Linked DNA regions of Homo sapiens: region 2 is linked to region 1. The links are contacts of gene promoters, found by promoter capture Hi-C in blood cells and fetal thymus (Javierre and others, 2016). All regions are on one chromosome and are shown on one strand. Each heading gives the region's core, a stretch centred on a gene start or on the middle of the fragment in contact. The rest is flanking DNA. Distances are from core to core; before and after follow the strand shown. Region 1 holds the start of PSMC5 (proteasome 26S subunit, ATPase 5). Region 2 overlaps CEP95 (centrosomal protein 95).

The links. Contacts are between HindIII fragments. The CHiCAGO score rates a contact against its expected background, and 5 or more counts as called.
Region 2: a contact is called between a fragment that was not itself captured here and the fragment with the promoter of PSMC5 in region 1, in 3 of 17 cell types (monocytes, total CD8 T cells and naive CD4 T cells). The highest score is 6.7, in monocytes.

What each region holds. Positions count from the first base shown.
Region 1 is chr17:63,824,601-63,829,034 of GRCh38, reverse strand. PSMC5 (proteasome 26S subunit, ATPase 5) reads right to left here and starts at 1,604. Exons shown (of 12, transcript NM_002805.6): 1 at 1,521-1,604; 2 at 826-897. The coding sequence starts at 1,544. It overlaps FTSJ3 (FtsJ RNA 2'-O-methyltransferase 3), which reads left to right and starts at 1,372. Exons shown (of 21, transcript NM_017647.4): 1 at 1,372-1,983; 2 at 2,107-2,199; 3 at 2,363-2,468; 4 at 2,731-2,777; 5 at 2,900-2,979; 6 at 3,400-3,499; 7 at 3,599-3,793; 8 at 3,872-3,987; 9 at 4,106-4,210; 10 at 4,298-4,398. The coding sequence starts at 2,133. RefSeq lists enhancers at 1,214-1,263, 1,644-1,923, 1,060-2,259. The HindIII fragment of the contact is 8,506 bases long and covers 1-4,085 here.
Region 2 is chr17:64,511,270-64,515,138 of GRCh38, reverse strand. It overlaps CEP95 (centrosomal protein 95), which reads right to left. Exons shown (of 20, transcript NM_138363.3): 4 at 781-891. Among named protein-coding and RNA genes, the nearest start is that of CEP95, 6.2 kb to the right of the region's middle. The HindIII fragment of the contact is 1,475 bases long and covers 1,128-2,602 here.

The DNA.
Region 1 (4,434 bases), core at 355-2,854:
TAAGGTGAACGAATAAAAACACATGAAAAAGCATTCAAAAATGGTAAACTAAACATAATACCTGCAAATGCACTTGGAATTCAGAATTGTCTTTTGTGGCTTTCCCCCATCCAATTTATATTACAGTTGACACTTGAACAACGCAGGGGGTTAGGGTGAAATTGAAAATCCATGGACCTGTCCAAAGTTAAACTACTAACAGCCTACCGTAACAGTATAACGTAACACTAACAGACTACTGTTTATGTTGTCTGTAAGGCTTACTACTGGAAGCCATACCTTACTGCTGGAAGCCTTACTGGTAACACAAACATTTGATTAACAACATAAACGGTCCTTTTTCTATGGTTTAGCGCTTTAGGCTAGGGCTCTGGGTTGCCCAATTTCTTTCATTCAGTCTCTATGGAATTAGCATTGTCCAGATCCCTCAATGATGCCCTTCCTCACATTCTCACTTCACCCTCACCCAACCTCTTGGTGATAAATTTCAACTCCTGAGCTTATGTTTCCCTTTTATAAGAATCCTTTTCATTCGGGCTTCTTCCAAAAGGGTTGACCTTTGGCTAGAGGTACCTTTACTATTAAGATTTGACTCGAAGATGTGTAACAAACTGTGAACACTAAGACCCTCAAAGAGATGGGACTGGAGGAGAACAAGAGATTGCTTACTTCTGATACATACACCCTACTAGCTAAGAAACAAACAAGAAAGGAGAAGCAGCAGCTTCTTCCACTGCACTCCCAAAGGAATTAGATGGATTTGTGGAAGTCCGTTTCCATCCCCCATCATCACCCTTCCTAGCTCCCTCTGGAGTCCGTCCTCACCTGGAGTTCTTCAATCTTGGACAGATAATATTGGCGGAGTCCGCTGCCTGCCTTCCCCTCCTCCAGCTCCATCTGAAGACACAGAGTGAGTCTTAAACGACAGGTTAAACATCCGAGGGGGTAAAGCCACTTGCAGGGCACTTTGAATAAGGCTTGACACCAGGTAGCTTTGCGTAGTAGAAAAAGTTTGGACTTCGGAGGCTCAGGATCTGGGTTCTAATCCCTCCCTCCCTTGGAACCCTCCATTTTCCCAGGACTAAAATAAAAGAATGGGAACGCCGCCTACCTCATACGACTTTTAGGAGGACCGAGAGGCGATATGATATAGACGGGGGGCGCTTTGCACTGCGTGAAGTGCTCTACAAGCCCGAGGTGTCAGTACTGACGAAGGAGCCAGCGGAACGGAGCCAAAGGACTGGCGTCCCGTCTCCTGCGACCCGTGGGCCGGCCATTCCCGCGCCCATCGCTTCCCTCACTCACTCCGCTTCTACCGCGTCTTCCTCTCCCAGCCTTGCCCTGACTCACCGAGGGCGGCGCTGACACAGCAGATCCGGTCGCAGGCAGCGTCCAGCATGGACTGGTCCAGGCACCTCCGACCCACCCGACGCTCCTGCCCCGGCCCGCTCTCCACTCAGATCACGCTCGCTCCGCACCCAGCCCCGTAACCTGCCGGGCCGCCACTGCACCCGCCATACCTGCTCTGGTCCGTCAAGCGCCATCTTCTCTCTTCAGCAGAGACCGCCGGCATCCGAGCCGTCTTGGCGCGCAAGCGCGGAAGCGGAGGATTGGGACCTGAAGACCAGGCAGAGAAGAATTCCGGGTCAATGGGCGGGGTGTGCGGCGAGACCACACTAAGGGAACCATGATGGGAGGGGCGGCTACTCGAGTTCAGGGGCTTTGGAAGGGGATGAGGAAGGAGTAGAACTCCTCCTCAGTGTTGCCTCATTGAAACTCTGTTTATAGTTCTTGTGATATGCCTTCCTAGTCTCAACTTTCAACTTACAAAACCCAAGGACAGAGTATTGAGAACAATCTAGGGCCACACTCAAAATGGCGGAAAACCTCGAGCCAGGGACGCAGGGGACGCAAGCGGAAGCGGAAGTAGTTAGCTGCATACTTGTGCGGTTCCAAGTGTGGAGAAAGCGGCTCTGGGTCTAGGTAGTGTGCGGAGAGGGGCGCGGGGTGGAATTGCTGCGGGAAGTGGGAAACTGGAAGTGGGAAACTGGAAGTGGAATCTGGTGCTCCGGAAAGAGACGTTCCCAACTTCTACTTTCTCCCCAGATTGAGGGATACTCCCCCTTTCCACCATGGGCAAGAAGGGCAAAGTTGGCAAGAGCCGACGAGACAAGTTTTATCACTTGGCGAAGGAGACGGGTGAGTCCGGATTCGCTCAGTCTGCGAGCGAGCGAGCGATCTCTGCCCGGTTCGCCTGCTCTTTGCGACCATTATGTACCTCTCCTGCAGAAGGGGTGGTCGGTTGCGAGGCCGGAGAAATCCTACTAGTGAAGCAGTTTGCGCACTTGGTTGTTTTGTCCAGGTTACCGTTCCCGATCTGCTTTCAAGCTGATCCAGCTCAATCGCCGCTTTCAGTTCCTGCAGAAAGCCCGAGCCTTGCTGGACCTGTGTGCTGCGCCAGGGGGATGGTTCGTAACACTCGCCACAGGTTGCTCCTGGTGGCCGCTTTCTGGGTTCTGAGCTGGGATGGCTTCCAGTTTCACTGCGGGAGGGGAACCCGAATCCCGGTCCTCTTGGGGGCCGTTTCCTTTCTTGATTGCAGAGAAAGGGCTTGGAATACGTGCCTATGATATGCTTTGGCCAGTACACGTAACACCAGGGATGAGAGATCAGTTGCCAAGAGGGGGAAAAGGATGGCTCTAGGTTTTTAAATTTCTGTTCCTTTTATAGGCTGCAGGTAGCTGCCAAGTTTATGCCTGTATCCAGCCTTATTGTGGGTGAGTAACGGACAGCTCTCCTTGGTGTTTTAAGGGGTGGGTGTATAAGGTATTTTGTCCTGTATTTCTCTCCTCCCTGCTTGAAGCAACCTTTTAGAATACTCTGACCTGATTTCTTCCAGGAGTGGACCTGGTTCCAATCAAGCCTCTCCCCAATGTGGTGACTCTCCAGCAGGACATCACAACAGAACGTTGTAGGCAGGTAATAGGAGTCTCTCTCTTCCTTCCCCCTTTATACGGAAACATCTACATCCCTGAAATCCTCTAAAGGCAAGTTTTTCCTTTTTACCGTGCTTTGAGCACGTTCTTGCCTGACATCTGTACGACAAGACCTATGGCATTCGTAGTGTCCACTCCAGGCTTTATTTAGAGTCAGGGATAAAGGTGTTTGGAATTGGGAGAAGGGCAGAGATCTTTAGTGAAGTCTTCTCCTGTGAATTCAGTGTCAGACTGTAATCTCCATGAAGGTAGAGACATACTGTTTTTGTTTACTATTGTATCTCCTGTGCCTGGTACTGCATTTGGCCCATGATGGGCACTCAGCAAATGACTAGATGGACAAATGGCTGAACCAGGGCCATTCCAGTGTTTCTGTTTCCATAGTTCCTTTTCTTCTCTTTAGGCCCTGAGGAAGGAGCTGAAGACCTGGAAGGTTGATGTTGTGCTCAATGATGGGGCCCCCAACGTTGGGGCTAGCTGGGTCCATGATGCTTACTCACAAGGTACAGGGAGTGTGGTGCTTGGAGATCAGGTGATGGTGGAGGTGGGCGCATGCCCTCCTGGGCTGCAGAGTGCGTCAACTAATTGTCTCTATCCTACAGCCCATTTGACACTGATGGCTCTACGTTTGGCTTGTGACTTTTTGGCCCGTGGTGGCAGCTTCATCACAAAGGTTTTCCGTTCTCGTGACTATCAGCCTCTGCTATGGATCTTTCAGCAGCTGTTCCGCCGTGTCCAGGCCACCAAGCCCCAAGCCTCTCGCCATGAATCTGCAGAGATCTTTGTAGTCTGCCAAGGTGGGCATCATTTCCTTTCTCTTGATCCAGGCTCCCAACTCCCAAAGCACACTTTTTAATATATCCTGTCATTTTTAGGATTCCTGGCCCCTGACAAGGTTGACAGTAAATTCTTTGACCCCAAATTTGCCTTTAAGGAGGTTGAAGTTCAGGCTAAGACCGTTACTGAATTGGTTACTAAGAAGAAGCCAAAGGTGTGTTTTGGGGAATGGGGTCACTCTTGGGTCCTGGAACTCTAGGGAGGTTGGGCCTGGTGGGTCCTACAGGTACCTTAGAAGGGCCTGACCAAGCTTCTCTCTTTTCCTTCCTAAGGCTGAAGGCTATGCTGAGGGTGACCTCACTCTCTATCACCGTACCTCAGTCACTGACTTCCTCCGAGCTGCCAACCCTGTTGACTTCCTCTCCAAGGCCAGCGAAGTGAGTCTCCAGCCTTGAGGGACATGAGGTAGCCCCAGAAACATGGCCTGAGGATCTCCCCTGACACCTTTCCATCCTCCCAAACAGATCATGGTAGATGATGAAGAGTTGGCACAGCATCCAGCTACCACTGAGGACATACGGGTGTGCTGTCAGGACATCAGAGTGTTGGGGCGCAAGGAGCTCAGGTATGGAGTGGGGTAGGCACGGGGGCCAGGAGCCCT
Region 2 (3,869 bases), core at 616-3,115, 690 kb before region 1:
CAGTGTGGCAGACTTTTCAATTTTCCCTCCCAGTTTTTAAACAGTTTAGTAACAATGATTAAAGGTAGGAAACTATCTCTAACTAAAGACTTTAAGATTAATTTCAAATGTGACTATCACAGGTCTCACTATAAACAAAGTGAGAATGGAGGATGAGCCTACCCCAATTTTTTGTCTTAATTTGTATTCGAATTTATGTAAATTGTGGTTGCTGCTGAAAGTTTATTTTTGATAACTTTTCAACATAAGAACAGGTAATATATTATTCCATTCGTGACCAACAGCATTATTTACTTAATCTCAAATTATTAAGACAGTTAAGTTCTTTCACTTTTTGCAATGACAAATATCTGAAATATTTAGGCTGTCACAAATGTAAGTGCAGGCTAAAGACACAAATGCACCAATTCTTCCTGTTGATGCCTCAGTAACATCCAAATATTTACCATAAATAGCAGTTCTGACACACGAAATTTTGGAGAAAGAAATTTTATGCAATCATAGGACAATAAATAATTTAGCCAGAAATTTATCTTTCTAGTATAAATTAGTTTTGAAGTAATTTATGAGCAACATCCAAGTTGATAAAGAACATGATGACAGTCTAAGACAGTTTCCAACCAGCTGGAACAATAAGAATTTGAAATTTACAACTACGGTTATCAGGTATACTGTATTAGTGAATCTGCTTCCTATGAAGAAAAATACACAAAAAGATAAAAGGCAAAAGGGACACATCATAAAAGGTAAACCAAACCAAATTTCCATTCTTAAACTTACTTTTCTCATGAGATGTTTCACTGATGCGTTCTGTAAGATACTCCAACAAACCATCAAATATTTCCAGGAGATTCTTAATAGATTCTTTATCTCCTTTCACTATATTTTCTCCTGGAGACAGAATATAGAGCTATTAAAAAATTTAACCATGAAATCTGAAAGCTTCATAATCTTGAAACTTGGATATAACATTGTGAAAATGCTATTTAAGAATACAGGCGATACATACCAACTTACAGCTCCTTGGAGATTAAATAAAAAAAAGAATACAGGTGAAACAATTATAAATATTAAGAACAACAATTTCCTGCTGCCTGATTATATTTGAAGAAAAAAAGGGGGAAGCTTTAAATATGGCGTCTAATAATTCACTGGCATATTCCTTCCTTTTTTGGAGAAGCAAAATAATTGGACTTAAGAAAACATGTCTAGTAAGATTTATACCAAAATATATTGCAGCTAAACAGAACTTTACCAGATTGGTGGGAAAAAGTGGCAGGAGAGAACACTTTCAGATTGTGGTATCCTATTCTAAATGGTGGTTTGTTCAGAAGATTATAGCAGCAGAGTAACATCAAAACAACAAAAAAAAACAATAAACTTGTTGGGATACTTTCATCAGAAATTCCTGAATTCTCCACCATAACCCCCCATATTTGTTAACTCCTCATTTTGTATAGATCATACCATTTTTCTGATTAAAATCCTTTCCCTGGCTCCCTTTCTGAAATATAAGCCCTGCATATAAAACCTTTTTAAATCTCACTCCATCTTCAGCGTCTCCAGCTACATCTCTTACCATATCCACTTCATATTCATAACTTACACTCATAGATCATAGCACAGTCCCTAGCACAGTACCTACTCCGTAACAGATTTTTAATATAAATGATTAGGTTGAAATGTTGAATAGAAATGGGTTGGCAAAAAGCATGGAAACTTGACATATTTAATGTCACCTGAAATGGACTCCAAATCAACCTCAGGTATAGATAGTACTTAACCCTTGTGACACTCTGATTGTCCTTTGGGAGATCATGCCTGGCATTCTCATGAGTTCACACCAATATGGGAAAAGCAGTGTAGAAATTTGACATTTGGGAGAATCTAGCCATTCGTAACCTCAGCCATGATGCAAAACAAACCTAAACCAGAAATTTGACGTTTTATACTACTACTAGTAACGACAACGTTTGAGTTTTTTCGTTTAAAACAATGAACCAGAAATCTTGGTTTTGGACGTGTTTTTCCGGCTTAAAAATACCTAAGTATATCCCAAGAGCATCCTCAAAACTTTTCAGTTTCTAGGATGGGGAGTATACTGACAACCTAGCAACTAAGACTGCCAGCCAGAATGCAGTGCTTCATGCTGCAGGAGAAACTGTTTTACAATTTTTCATAGGGTGGGTGTAATCTGTCAAAGACAGCTCTGCATTAAAGAGTTTTACAAACATGTATGTTTATAACCCTGCTATAGTATGTTTAACAAGCACAAATACCAGAACTTGTCCTACTTGGGTGATAAAGCAATTACAAATTGCAAAAAAAAGAGGGAAACTATGGGAGTAGCCCTCAAATTATCTCCGAACTGATTTACCCATTCACTCACCTAGAACTGCATTAAAAAACTTAAGACAGAAGAGTATTTTATTCTCTTCGCAAAAATTTGTTCTTGTCAGTATCAAATTAAGAGATGTAAATCAGGACTTATCCTGATTAACATTTATCTCCTTTTACAACTATCAAAGAATAAATCAACAGTATAAATCCTCTTTTTGTGATTATAGTTTCACATTGTCAATATTCCCTCTATTCATAAGCTTGAAATAACTTACTGGAATAATCATTCATTTCTAAACATAAATGAAATACACATAATACAGTGATTTATAAATATATTTGGTATGCTTAGTTTTAGAATACAGTATAGTATACTTTATTTTGGAGATTTAATTACAGAAAAAAACTTCTGAATAGATAACATGGTTCAAAATTCAGCAAGTGCAAAAAGTATACACTGAAAGTTCTTGTCCCTTTGTCCTGCAACCCTGAGGTTCCCTTTGTTGGAAGCAATCAGTATTACGAGTTTCTTGTATATGCTTCTAGAGAGTTCTTCCGATTGCAAACAACTGCAAATACTTCTGCACACCTTTGTTTTTACAAACACTAGCATACTACTCTGCACATTACCATTATAATTGTACTACATTTTTCTCGCATCACATATGCTAGAGATTGTTCCCAACACGGAACATTGTGCACAAAGAGCATATTCAGTCATCTTTTACAGCCACAGAGCAGTCCACTGTATGCAGCTATCATGATTTATCTAACCAATCCCTACTAATGGACATTTAGGTGTTTCTAATTTTTAGCTATCACAAACAAGTAGCATTAGTATGCTTTAAAATAAAACAATACGGCCAGGTGTTGCGAGAAGTCAGGGACCCCAAACAGAGGGACCGGCTGAAGCCATGGCAGAAGAACGTGGATTGTGAAGATTTCATGGACATTTATTAGTTCCCCAAATTAATACTTTTATAACTTCTTATGCCTGTCTTTACTGCAATCTCTGAACATGAATTGTAAAGATTTCATGGACACTTATCACTTCCCCAATCAATACCCTTGTGATTTCCTAGGCCTGTCTTCACTTTAATCTCTTAATCCTGTCATCTTGTAAACCGAGGAGGATGTATGTAGCCTCAGGACCACGTGATAATTGCGTTAACTGCACAAAATTGTAGAGCATGTGTGTTTGAACAATATGAAATCTGGGCACCTTGAAAAAAAGAACAGGATAACAGCAATTGTTCAGGGAATAAGACAGATAACCTTAAACTCTGTCCGTTGGTGAGCCGGGCGGAACAGAGCCATATTTCTTTTCTTTCAAAAGCAAATGGGAGAAATATCGCTGAATTCTTTTTCTCAGCAAGGAACATCCCTGGGAAAGAGAATACACGCCTGGGGGCAGGTCTACAGACGGTCCCCCGGGCGTGGCCATCTTTTATGGTCTGTAGACTGTAGGGCTGAAATAGACCTCAGTCTCCCATATCGCTCCCAGGCTTATTAGGAAGAAGAAATTCCCG